Linked DNA regions of Homo sapiens: all the other regions are linked to region 1. The links are contacts of gene promoters, found by promoter capture Hi-C in human tissues and cell types (Jung and others, 2019). All regions are on one chromosome and are shown on one strand. The core of a region is centred on a gene start or on the middle of the fragment in contact, and the rest is flanking DNA. Distances in the headings are between cores, read along the strand shown.

Region 1 (4,480 bases), core at 797-3,296:
AATGGCTGGAAAATAAGGCTCAAGGAGCCAGATGGGGCAGGGAAAAAGAAAAAGACAGAAACACAGGCAGATTTGAATACCATGAGAATCGATTTGCATGAGAATGGATTGAGACTTCTGCAACAGCCCAGGGGAGAGATGAGGGGGCTGATTTAGAACAGTGAGAGGTTTGAGCAAAGCAAAGTTGAAAAGACCCTCCAGGTAACTGCTATGATTGACAGCAAGGAGGGCAGTGTTCCCCCAGCACAGCCCTGGCACAGGCAGCTCTAGAGGAAGCCTGGGTCTCCCACTCCCTTCCTTTTGCCACAGTCTCCCTAGCACATGCCTCCACCCTTCTCTCACTTTGGGGGACTGTGACCATTGGGTGGCAGGTGACTTCTTGAGAAATTCACTAATGTTTCCCTCTTTACTTCCTCCCTGCCTTGGTGGTTAATGGTTTGCCAAAGCAGAAGGAACATGCCTCTAGGCGCTTGCCATGATGACTTTTGCTTCCCAAAGTTAAGCTACTGAGCTGTTTATGGTTTATGTGATGGGGCCTGAGAGATTAGGAGAAGGAAGGAGAACTTCTGGGGGACACATGGAGACTGAGGAAGAGGGGGCAATCATTTTTGCAAGCTCTGAGCTGCAGCGCACACACAGTCAGCTGTGGAGCTTCACAGCCATTCCCTCTGCAGGCTCCTAGCCTCTCCAGAAACTTCCGTACCCCAGGAGTGGCAGACACAAGGCGATGGGAACAAGAGAGTATCTGCAGAATACACTGCCTGCTAAAGACAAGAGAGGACTCCCCAGATCCTTGCCTTGGTATTGCAGGAAGAGCTCAGCCTCCCAAAATCGGAGGTCAATTTATTGCCTGCCCTGTAGAATGGGAGCCGGAGGTTGAGGAGTGGATGTAAATAAAGGAATGCACTGTTTCTTGCACACACCTCTCTCCACTATCTGGGCAGAGTCTAGGTCTCATCCATCACCAAGGTTCTAGCACTCAGCTGAGAGGCTGCAGCAGGAGGGGCAGATGGAGGAGGGTGCGGTGCATACCATCTCCCCATCAAACCAATGGGCACCACGTGACCATTCTTGTGTCTCTGGGGACTGTCAATCTGCATGCTAGGAAAGGGGTGGCATTCCAATCTTTCATTTTTTTGTGTGTGAGACGGAGTCTTGCTCTGTCACCCAGGCTGGAGTGCAATGGTGCGATCTTGGCTCACTGCAACCTCCGCTCCCCGGGTTCAAGAGATTTTCCTGCCTTAGCCTCCCGAGTAGCTGGGATTACAGGCATGAGCCACCACACCCAGCTAATTTTGTATTTTTAGTAGAGACAGAGTTTCTCTATGTTGGTCAGGCTGGTCTGGAACTCCTGACCTCAGGTGATCCACCCGCCTTGGCCTCCCAAAGTGTTGGGATTACAGGCGTGAGCCACTGCGCCCGGCCCCATGCTTTCACTTTTAAAAATGCTTGTAGGGCACGCAAAAATACTAAACGGTCGATGGAGAAGGTCTGTCTGGAGTAGTTGTTTTTTTTTTTTTTTTTTGAGACAGAGTCTCGCTCTGTCGCCCAGGCTGGTGTGCAGTGGCACGATCTCGGCTCACTGCAAGCTCCGCCTCCCAGGTTCAGGCGATTCTCCTGCCTCAGCCTCCCAAGTAGCTGGGACTACAGGCGCCCGCCACCACACCCGGCTAATTTAATTTTTTGTATTTTTAGTAGAGACGGGGTTTCATCGCGTTAGCCAAGATGGTCTCGATCTCCTGACCTCGTGATCTGCCCGCCTCAGCCTCCCAAAGTGCTGGGATTACAGGCGTGAGCCACCTCGCCCGGCCTGTCTGGCGTAGTTCTAACCAGGAACAGAGCCAGCGGCCAGGGCCGCACCAGGCCTGGCCAGGGAGCGCCGCGCCTGCGCACTGCAGACTCTGAAGCCGCCGAGCCCTCCGCCGAGGTGGGTGGGGAAACTGCCCGGGCATCCGGGTCCCTCACCCCGCCCCCGCTGCATGAATGAGAGGCGCGGCGCCCGCCCCTCCCCCGGCGGGCCCGCCCCTCGCGAGGGGCCGCCGGGCGCAGTCAGCCGCCGCCACCTCCGCCGCGCTCTGTCCGGACGGACGCTCGCCGCCCGCAGCCTGCCGCCCGCCGCAGGGCGCTGACGGTCCCGCACGTCTGCCGCTGCCACCGGCGCGCCCGAGTAAGTGAGCGAGCGAGGGCGGGAGCGCCGCGGCCGCCGCCCCCGGGCTGGGGTTTGGGGGACCGAGCCGCTCCGGGTTCGGGATGCTGAGGAGACCGCGGGCCCGCGCCAGCCTCCCACACACACACACTCTCCCGGCGCCTCGGCCGGCCGGGCGCGGTGTGCAGGGGTGAGGCGGTGTCTCCAGGCTGAGGAGGGACGCGGAGGAGGGTCCGGCGCGGCCCCGGGACTGGAGGGTGAGTCCCTCACAAAGGGCGGAGCGGGGCTGTCACCTGGAGATCACGGAGGGAAGGTGCGTGGGCCCCCGCACGTCCTGCTCGCCCAAGCCCTGGCATCGGGTCCCCGGGCGTGGGAGGCGGCTGGGATGAGCTGGGAGGCTAGGAGGAGGATGGCGAGGACGCTGCCCCCGCGTTGGCGGTGGGCGCGCGCCTTGGGGGGTGCGGCGTGGCAGTGTTTTCCTGGTCCCCGTCCACTCCTCCCCTTTCTTTGTGGCGCTTGTCTCGTGCCCCGTTGTCACAGTGTGCATGGCAGTGGTCGGGGTGGAGACCTCTTCCCTCGGCTTACTCATTAATGAAAGTCACCATCTGTGGGCAGGGGGCGTGTGTGGTTCCACAGGCCGGAGAATTAAGGACCCTCCTTTGTTTCTGGAGACCTAATGATGTGTGTGTGTGTGTGTGTGTGTGTGTGTGTGTGTGTGCGCATTCAAGTGAAAGGGACATCTATGAAATGAGAGAATCAGAGATTGTCAAAAAGGGTATGAGGAAAAGGGGAGGGGATATAACTTCATCACACCTTTACCCAATTCTTTACCTGATGTTATTTCAAACAGTTTTTTCTCACTGTAAAACCAGTGGGTTTTATTCATTGGAAATGTGCATCTAAATTCTCATATATCTGTGTTTCTAGAATACTTTGCCTTTTTGGGCTTAGTTAATGGTAAGATTCTCATGTCTGTCTACATAGGAATACTCCACCGTACAGGACACTGCTTTCTGGGTTTAGTTCATTGATAATTTGTCCGAATGCTCATAAACATGTCTATAGGAATACTCCAATATATCTAGGACACAGTTTTCTCCGCTCCTGAATACAGGCAGATTTTGTTTCTTTCTGCCTCCCTGTGTTAATGAGAAGGTAGTCCAGCAGGTTCTCTCTACCTCCTTGCTTTTTTTTCCCCTTAATGCTTTGGCAGAGGGTTTTATTGCATATTACCCTGGCATGCGCCCTTGCTTTGATGTGAATTTTCCTGTGTTCTGTTGTCTGGTTGTACAGCCCAGCTCAATGGCTCCTCTTACAGGACTACTGGAAAACAGAACACCTTTTTTCATTGTCCTCATCTCCAGAGAGAGAAGGAAGCGCTGTAGGTTCCCACAAACGTTGACTCTGTCAGACTGCCTGCCTGACTTTGTTGTGTTGGTAAAGTTATGAAGAGTTGCAGTTGTTGTAGACCAATTAAAAAGAGGCTATTGGGATAACACCAGCTCTTCCTTGCTATTTTGGTTTTAAAACAAATGATATGAATTTTGCAAGATAGTTGTTAACTCTGGTTGCATGATGATTTTCAGTTTCTTTTTACCCATATACTTTTACAGGGTGTTGGGAAATTAGCCACTCATTTACAAGAAACACACCTCCAAGGTATTTTTATTATGGGTCGGGTGCGGTGGCTCACACCTGTAATCCCAGCACTTTGGGGGGCCGAGGTGGGTGGATCACCAGAGGTCAGAAGTTTGAGACCAGCCTGGCCAACATGGTGAAACCCTGTCTCTACTAAAAAAATACAAAAAATTAGCCGGGCATGGTGGCGAGCGCCTGTAATTCCAGCTACTCGGGAGGCTGAGGCAGGAGAATCGCTTGAACTCCCGGAGGCGGAGGTTGCAGTGAGCCTAGATCGCGCCATTGCATTCCAGCCTGGGCAACAAGAGCGAAACTCCGTCTGAAAAAAAAGCTATTTTTATTATGATCTTTGGATTCAAAATAGCGGTTTTAAAAAATTAAGAGGCGCTTATATTGGATGATATGAATAATTGTATGGGTTCTGTTTTCTTTAAGATTCTCTGTAATATTTTTAAAAATCACATGTATTTTAATTCCTAGTAGTTTTCAGTGGAAAATGAAATGTAAACTAAGCAGTCTTCCACAGCATCTGTTTATGTATATTCCCTCTGTTTAAAACATTTGCTTTTAATTTGAAGGGGAAATTTTCCATGGTCAGTTCAGGATACATTATTCTTAGTAAAATTCTTACCACGTTCAAATTCTTTTTTGTAAGAGTAAAAAAAAATTAATGAAAGTTGATTTTTCAATTGGGGA
Region 2 (4,480 bases), core at 1,098-3,597, 620 kb after region 1:
CTCCGTCTCAAAAAAAAAAAAAAAAAAAAAAAAAAAAAAAAAAAAGAAAAAAGAAAATGTTCAGTAAAAGCCATGGAATCTTTGAAACAATGATAGAAGGACTTGCCTCATCAGCTATAAAAGTAATCTGTATACTAGCAAGTTCAAGTGCTAGCTAGCATACCTTAAAGCTCTGATTATTTTTTTAAGCGCAGTATTCCTGTGAGAATAGGTAAATGCCTCAGATAGAGATCCAAACAATAGATCCAACTATATACGACAGTTTAGCAAATTCTGAAAGTGTCATTCCAGATCAGAGGATTAAAATAATATATGATCTTGGAATAGTCATTCCTGTTTGGGGGAACAAAATGCAGTTGGGTTCCTGCTTCACGAAAGTAAAAAAATTCCAGTGGAATAAAGAACTAAATGTTTTTTATAAACCAACATATATAATTAGAATGAAATTTGACATTTATTATTTTGTTTATAATACTGACTGGGGAAGGCACAAGAGGAAGACATAAAACCCTTAAGCTTAAAGGTGAAGATACACAGATTTAATTACATAACATTTTTAAACTTCGGCATGAAAAAGAGACTATAAACAAAATCTAGAGAATTGGAGAAAATATTTGCAACACATGGCCAAAATACAACTTTTTTTTTTTTTTTTTGAGACGGAGTTTCACTCTTGTCTCCAGGCCGGGAGTGCAATGGCATGATCTCAGCTCACCGCAACCTCCGCCTCCTGGGTTCAAGTGATTCTCCTGCCTCAGCCTCCCGAGTAGCTGTGATTATAGGCACACACCACCATGCCCAGCAAATTTTTGTATTTTTAGTAGAGACAGGGTTTCACCATGTTGGCCAGGCTGGTCTCGAACGTCTGGTCTCAGATGATCCACCTGCCTCAGCCTTCCAAAGTTCTGGGTTTACAGGCGGGAGCCACTGCACCCGGCCCAATACAACTTTTAAAATATGATGAAATATGTAAATTATTCTGAAAAAACTCAAATGACTGACTAGAAAGTAGGTAAAGAATATGAGTATGCACTCATAGAAAAAGAAATGTAGATAATCAATAAACATTTGACAACTTCCCTTGTAATTAGGGAAGTGTGAGTTGTAACTCAGAATTCTAGCCACTCATTTAGCATTAGTTGAAGAGTGGTAACACATAATTTAGAAACTTGTGGGAAACAGGTACTCTGGCATATTATAGGTAAACGGTTTAAAAGAACAATTTGGCAACACCTATCAAAATTTAAAATGCAGGCACCTCTTAACCTGGCAGTGCTACTTTTAGATCTCTTCCTTGTAGAAACTTTTGTGTTTGTGCCAAAGATGGACATAAAAGGTTGCTCACCGTAGCATTGTTTGCAATAGCAAACATAAATAGTAAAAATCCTGAATGTTCCATCATAGCAGCTGGTTAAATAAAAACAAAATAATACAGTACAACAGTTTTATTTGATTTATTTTTTATTTTTGTTTTGTTTTGTTTGACACAAGATGTCATTCTGTTGCCCAGGCTGGAGTGCAGTGGCTCAATCTCGGCTCATTGCAGCCTCAACCTCCTGGGCTCAAGCAGTCTCCACACCTCAGCCTCCTGAGTAGCTGGGACCATAGGCATGCCCCTGTAACCACCACGCCTAACTAATTTTTTGTAGAGATAGGGTTTTGCCATGTTGCCCAGGCTGGTCTCGAACTCCTGAACTCAAGAGGCAGGAGAATCACTTGAACCCAGGAGGCGGAGGTTGCAGTGAGCTAAGACTGTGCCACTTTACTCTAGCCTGGGCAACAGAGCGAGACACTGTCTCAAAAATAAATAAATAAATAAATAAATAAAAGGTATTCAACATCATTAGTGATCAGGTATGAGCCACTGCACCTGACCAGCAGTTTTAAAAATGAGATTTGGTTCTATGTACTAAGCTGGAAAGATCTCTGAGGTATAATGTTAAGTGAAAAAAAGCATGTTGCAGAGCAGTGACATATTTTATTGTTTTGCTTATGTAAAAACAAATACTTCCCCAACAGAAAAACACCAAAACTATGTATTACTGAGAGTTGCATACCAAATTGTTCACGTCAGTTTTCTATGATGAGATGAATCAGATTGGTATATGAGGATTCACTTTGTAAAACATTCAAGACACAAAGTGTACAGGATATAAGAAGAATATATTAGTATTTTAATTGTTTAATTTTCAAGATAAAGAAAGCATAAATCATGGAGAAAAACTGGGTAAAAATAAAATTTCCAATTTTTTTCTTCATTTCCAGGGAAGCAAGATAATGAAATATAAACAAACAAGAAAACATACCTGGCTGTTCATGCACAGTTGTTATAAAAGCAGTGAGCAGTGAGTTAACTATTTACATATAAGATGGGAAGAACAGAGATGATTGTTTAGAATTCACATATATTGTACCCACGACTGGCTTTATTGTCAGGAAAACAGTGGGGTTCAGCAGAAAGAAAAAGTTCAGAGTCAGGGTACCTGCTCACTTAGGTTCTGATGATGTTAATCTTTACTTAGCTTTGTGATCTTGGGCAAACTACATCTATTTAGCTCTTGGTTTCTTCTTCTTTGTCATCTATCAGTCATCTATCATGTCTAAATTCTGAGTCTGAATCCAAGGAAAATAAGAAATAAGTTATAATATGAAAGCAGCATCTTTGACGTAAGCTGCATTATTGGGTCTGCTGAGTCTATGCGTCTTCTAAAGGTAGAACTTACAAAGTCATTGGTGACCACATGCTCAGGTAGACCTGGGGGTTAGAGGGCAGTGTCATTGCTGGGTATGGTATATGTTTGAAAAAATTTATTTCTTTTTCTTTTTGTAGATAAGAGTCTCACTCTGTCACCCAGGCTTGAGTGCAGTGGTGCAATCAATGCAGCCTGGAACTCCTGGGCTCAAGTGATCCCCCCACCTCAACCTCCTAAGTAGTTGGGACTTCTGATGCACACCATCATGCCTGGCTAATTTTTTTATTTTTAGTTTTTGTAGAGATGAGGTCTTGCTGTGTTGCTAAGGCTAGTGTTGAATGCCTGGCCTCCCAGAGTGTTGGGATTACAGACATGAGCCACTGTGCCCGCCCTTTGAATATTTTTATTAAAAGGAAAAAAGACAGCCAGGCGTGGTGGCTCACGCCTGTAATCCCAGCACTTTGGGAGGCCAAGACAGGTGGATCACCTGAGGTCAGGAGTTTGAGACCAGCCTGGCCAACATGGAGAAACCTGTCTCTACTAAAAATACAAAATTAGCCAGGCGTGGTTGCGCATGCCTGTAATCCTAGCTACTCAGGAGCCTGAGGCAGGAGAAACGCTTGAACCCGGGAGGCAGAGGTTGCAGTGAGCCAAGATCGCGCTGTTGCACTCCAGCCTGGGCAACACGAGTGAAACTCTGTCTCAAAAAAAAAAAAAAAAAAAGAAGGAAAAAAGACTGGCTGGATACACAACAAACTCATAGTGGTGACCTCTGGGGGGTGAGGATCAATGATGACTTTAGGTTTTTATGTAATATTCCTTTTTTTCCCTCAAAATAGACAGTAAATATTCAACATACATAATTTTAAAAAGCAGTAATGTAGAAAAAAGCAAATATGCCAAAATATTAACAGTGGTTAATTCCGGCTGCTGGGAGTGTGGGTCATTGTGGGTTTTTTAATACTTACTAGGTTTTCTTTTTTTTAATTAAAAGGTAAATAATTAAGTGACACGTTTCATGGTTCATTGATGAATAAAAAACTATCTTCTGGTTAATAATTAAATTTGGGAAGCAGAAAATACACAAAGGAAAGGAAGAATTGAATTTAGTTTCACCATTTGATAATAAAATAAGAAACACTAATTAGGACAGTGTTTATCTCTGGGAAGAAGGTCTTTCTACATTTTATATGCTTGCACTTTCTTTGGATAACATAGTTGTGGAAAGGAAACTTTTCAGTATTGTCTTGGCTTTGTACAGCAGTAGTTGGGGAGCTGTTTTTTTCTTGGTCACCTGACCTTTTCATGCTTTTGTCACTTGCTGGTTGTAACTTTGAAAACCAAAGAGCTCTGGGTAACCTTGGCAGTAAAGCAGCCTACTGTCTGATGGGTTGGGAAGTGGGCCACAGGACCAACTCAATGAACTATTTCTAGTGCAGAGAATGATTGCAAGATCAGCCTTCTATTAAACATGAAAAAGTGGGGAGAGGCAGGCAATCTTCATTGCCCAGAAAAAGTTTTTCTGACTTTAATCTTGATCGTCTTGCTGTTTCAGCCTTGCTGCTTCTAAGACTTTCTTTCCTCTCACCCCCGTATTTTTATTATGAAAATGTTCAAACCATACATAAAATGTGAGAGGCCAGGCGTGGCACCTCACACTTGTAATCCCAGCACTTTGGGAGGCCAAGGCGGGCAAATCACCTGAGGTCAGGAGTTCGAGAACAGCCTGGCCAACATGGTGAAACCCTGTCTCTACTAAAAATGCAAAAATTAGCTGGGCATGGTGG
Region 3 (4,480 bases), core at 739-3,238, 580 kb before region 1:
CGTCTAAAGAGTGTCTGGTTAGTTGAAGCAGAGTAACAGCATTTCATGTTCATTTCAGATTTTCTTCTGGGAAATTCAGCCCATTCAATTTAAGTAACTGGCTGCTGTATTCAACCTGCATCTACATCACATTGAATTTACTAAAATATATGTTTATAATGGACCTCATTTTATGCCAATGTACACAAAGTAGACTTCAATTTGTATCACAGCTGGGTTTAGGAGAAGCTGCATAAAAACTGAACTTTTATAAATTTAATGCCTTCTCCCCATTGATTTACATTACAATGTCAGATGCTTTGATTTCCTTTTTGAAGCTTTTTAGTAAAAGGTGAAAAGAGTGACACATTAGCAACAAAAATCTCTTTAAATGGCTAATGATCCATCAGAAGCTTTTCAATTGCTTTAGGTTCACTTTTAATGGAATCCTTTTCTAATATGTGTATTTATAGCTCCTATTCTCAAGACCCAGTCATCAAACCCTTCCACGTGTGAATAATTATCCATCTAATTACAATCACGTAATCCTGTTATCAGCCAGACTTGTTCTCATGTTATCGTTGATAAAGTGCCCATGAAGGTGATGTGAGGAGCCAAGCTCTTTGTGTCCTTCTGTGTGCCCAGGAGATGGGCAGAAAAATATGCAATTTCTCATGTTTTCAGTTTATGTTTTACCATGAGTTTGAAGGAATCTTCCTTGTGAAGCCTCAGTCTTTGCAATGATGGTTTACATTCTGAGCATCCTGTGGAAGGAACAGACTGTTCCAGCACCAGGAGGGGATCCGTCCAACCCGGGCAGAAGGATGGTGAATAAGGAATGTCAAGGAGCAGATTCCTACCCTTGAAGGAAGATTCACTTGAAAGTAATTTACTAAGGGGTAGGCCTCAGGAAAACCCAGGGAGTGAGGAATTGGGACTGGGAAGGGAAGGAGGCCAGGCGAGAGTGCAGAGTGGAGCTGCAGTGTGGCTCCTGCTTCCCCAACCACCTGTCATGATGAAGATCTGCCCTCGGGGGCTGTGATGGTTACTTTTATGTGCCAACTTGGCTGGGTCGCAGGTTGTCTGGATGTTTAGTCAAACATTCTGAGTGTTTCTGTGATAGGGTGTTTTTAGATGAGATTAACATTTAAATCAGTAAGGCTGATTGACCTCTGCAATGTGGGTGGGCCTTGTCCAATCCGCTCAAGGCCTGAATAGAACAATAATGTGGAACGTCCTCCAATTAAGAGGGAATTTCTCCTTCCCGACTACCTTCAAGTTGGGACATCAACTTGCTTCTTGCCTTTGGACTTGGACTGAAACATTGGCTCTTGAGCCTGGCAGCTTTAGGACTGGAACCAACCATGGGATCTCCTGGCTTGCCAATGCAGATCTTGGGACTTGTCAGCCTTCATGATCATGAGGCAATCCCTTATAATAAATCGATTTCTCTCTCTCATATATATATATGTACACACACATATATATGTATACACACACATGCATACATACATATACGTATATATACACACACGCATATGTATACATGTATATATGTAATCCCATAAGTTCTGTTTCTCTGGGGAACTCTAATATAGGTAAATACGTCCCCTGATCCCTGGCACTTCCAGGCTGCTGCATGTGGTCCAGGGAGGCTCCAGCAGCCTGGGACAGCCCTGCAACAGAGAAGCAAGAAGATGCTGGCTGTCTCCCCACAGAGAAGGCACGCAGAGGACAGGGGCACAGGAAGAAGGAGGGGCACCGAGGGAATGTGTGGAGGCACGGGTCTGCTACACACGTAGTAACTCACTAACCTTACACCAAATCAGGACGCAGATACTACAGTTATCCCCGTTTCATAGATGAGGAACCCGAGCATGAGGAGAGTCAGCAAGCCGTGGAGCTAACTCAGATCTTGACCGCTGCTTTGGAGGAAAGTTGTGAAATATCCTGCTGGGCTAGAGGTAAAGGGAGGAATAAGCAGTCATCAACACCCCTACGAGGCTGAGTTAATTCAAGGAGTCGAGCAAAAGAGGCAAGGGGAGGGGTAGCTGACAGCTGGGGGCAGAGGAGAAATGCTTGGACAGGGGATGCCGGGGAGAGCGGAGGACTCTGTCGCGCTGACCAGGGCATTCCCCAGCGTGGACTGCAGAAGGACTGCAGCAGAGACGATCTCTGCAGACAGGTCCTTTTCCTCACTGCCCTCAAACACCCAGCGTGGGCTGCTGCCCGCCGGGCCTAGGCTGGAACCAACCACAGGCTTCTCCGAGGACGCGAGGGTCTCAGCCGGCGGCGTTCCCGGCGTGGCCGCGAGAGGGCGCGCCAGCCTCGGGCACCGCCGGGGTCGCGTCCTCCGCGGGAAGCCTGGCAGCCGCGCGTCCACTCCAGGCTGCCTTGGGGAGGGGGTGCCCCGGGGCATTTCCTCAGAGCCCTCCAGCTCCGCCTCACTTTAGAGCACCGCCGCCCCTTTCTGCCCCCTTTCCCAGGTGGCAGCGTATGGGCGCGATTTAGACGGTATGGGACGTTGCCCTGCCCGCCACCCCCTGCCCTCATAGCCTAGTGCAAAGTCTGAAAAAGAAACTGGCCTTGGTGGGTCCTGAAAGATTGCAAATCTGGATAAGTAAACAAAATCTGAAGGCAGCCTCTTAAGTTTAAACCTGGGCCTTGCTTCTGTTTGCTTTGGCTTGAAAACGTTTGGGGGTGGGGCTAGGCGTCAAGATGGAGTGACTGTACCAGCATACCACATTAAAGGGACTGTGCGGTTCCTCCACACAACGGGAGGGTCCTTCCGCACGGAATACAACACCCCCACTATCGAAAGCAAGCCCCTCTTGAGGGCCACCTCCTCCAGGAAGCCCCCGCCCGCAGGAGGACCCTCTGAATGTTGGCATTACTGGCCTGCCCACTGGTCCCTCTGCCCATCCCAGGAGCAACGCCCTGGGAATGCCCCTGGCAGGGGCCAGTTCCTGTCTGTACCCGAGACCCTGAGCTCTTGCAAATTAGAGATGGTTATTCTTTCCCTACTAGGAATTGTAGGCTGGAGTCTACATAGAGTAAGAGAAGAAGGCCAATCACCGACCTGGAATTCCTAGCACCCCTTTGACCCGGCCTTCAGGTCAGAGCTGGCTGCGGGTAGATGGGCCATGGGGGAGATGGGCTTGAAACAATAATGCATAGGCCGTGGGGAAAAGGGAGAGAGAAATTAATGTCCCTTCCAGGTACTCTCCTGGACTGTAGAATGAATGTCTACAGAAGAGTATATGGTCTTATGGGGAAACTGAAGTCCAGAAAGGAGAATATTCCCAGCCAGGATCACACAAGCAATCAAACACCATTCAGATACAGTTAAATCGACTGGACCAACAATCCAAAGGTTTCCGTCCTGGAAGCTGTGTTGCTTTGGGCAACTTGTTTACACCACGGAGGCCTTCATTTCTGAATGTGTGAAACGGTGAAGTTCTGCGGTGTGCAGTGTAAAATGGGGCGGGTGTGTGTGTGCAAAAGCAACAACCCAGGTGTGCAGACCTGCCTCTGCCAGAGTGACCCTTCCCCTAACAGCATCTAACCCAAGAATGGGAGAATTGCTTGCTATGGAGAAATCTAAATATCACACATCAAACCCATAGGAAACATTAGAAAATATATAGTCATCTGCCTTGAAGGGCAGATACGTGAACTTTTTAACCCAGAGCAGTTGCTACCCAGCTAGCTTTGAAATTTACTGCTTTTGGTCAAAATATGCTCTTCAGCTAGTGCTTTCTTCTAGCTGGTTGTCTTCCTGCCTGCCCTGTGTCATAAAAAATGGGGGGCCCTTACTGCTTTATCAAGGGGAAGTCAAGACTGGGACTTCTAGTCCACAAGAAGAGAGGCACCACTGCTGCCTTCGCACAGGTTAACTTGGAAGACAAAGGAGCTTTGGCTAAGCTGGTGGAAACTATCAGGACCAATTACAGCGACAGATACGATGAGATCTGCTGTCACTGGGGAGGTAATGTCCTGGGTCCCAAGTCTGTGGCTCGCATCACCAAGCTAAAAAAGGCGAAGGCTAAAGAACTTGCGACTAAACTGGGTTAAATGTACGCTGTTGAGTTTTCTGTACATAAAAATAATTAAAATAATAGAAATTTTCCTTAAAAAAAGAAAATATATGGTCATCTCAATAAATCCTGAGCATAATCAATTACAACTCAGTCATCATTACTGAGAGGAAACTCATTGTAAACCAGGAGCAGAGGACCACTGCCTAGGACCATCAATGTACTTATACTGACTATTATAACAGCATTCTACTATAATCACAGTGAATGCCATTCCTGACATTTAAACAATAAAGGCATTGCTTTAGTCCCTTCGGGCTGCGATAATGAAATACCATCAACTGGGTAGCTTGTAAACAACAGAAATTTATTTCTTTCAGTTCTGAAGCCTGCAAAGTCCAAGATCAAGGCACTGGCAGATTCGGTGTCTGACAAGGAAGTCTCCTCCTTCCCCATGGATGGTA

The links. Contacts are between HindIII fragments. The study calls those that stand out against the background at their distance.
Region 2: a contact is called between a fragment that was not itself captured here and the fragment with the promoter of RNF24 in region 1, in 1 of the 25 tissues and cell types used here (hippocampus).
Region 3: a contact is called between a fragment that was not itself captured here and the fragment with the promoter of RNF24 in region 1, in 1 of the 25 tissues and cell types used here (lymphoblastoid cells).

Annotation. Positions count from the first base shown.
Region 1 is chr20:4,013,124-4,017,603 of GRCh38, reverse strand. It overlaps RNF24 (ring finger protein 24), which reads left to right and starts at 2,046. Exons shown (of 6, transcript NM_001134337.3): 1 at 2,046-2,167. RefSeq lists enhancers at 319-920, 1,124-2,056 and a silencer at 1,940-2,539. The HindIII fragment of the contact is 8,027 bases long and covers 1-4,480 here.
Region 2 is chr20:3,390,515-3,394,994 of GRCh38, reverse strand. All of the region lies in intron 1 of DNAAF9 (dynein axonemal assembly factor 9), which reads left to right. Among named protein-coding and RNA genes, the nearest start is that of DNAAF9, 15 kb to the left of the region's middle. The HindIII fragment of the contact is 8,801 bases long and covers 1-4,480 here.
Region 3 is chr20:4,590,566-4,595,045 of GRCh38, reverse strand. It overlaps the pseudogene RPL7AP12. Among named protein-coding and RNA genes, the nearest start is that of PRNP, 94 kb to the left of the region's middle. RefSeq lists a silencer at 2,184-2,333. The HindIII fragment of the contact is 3,266 bases long and covers 356-3,621 here.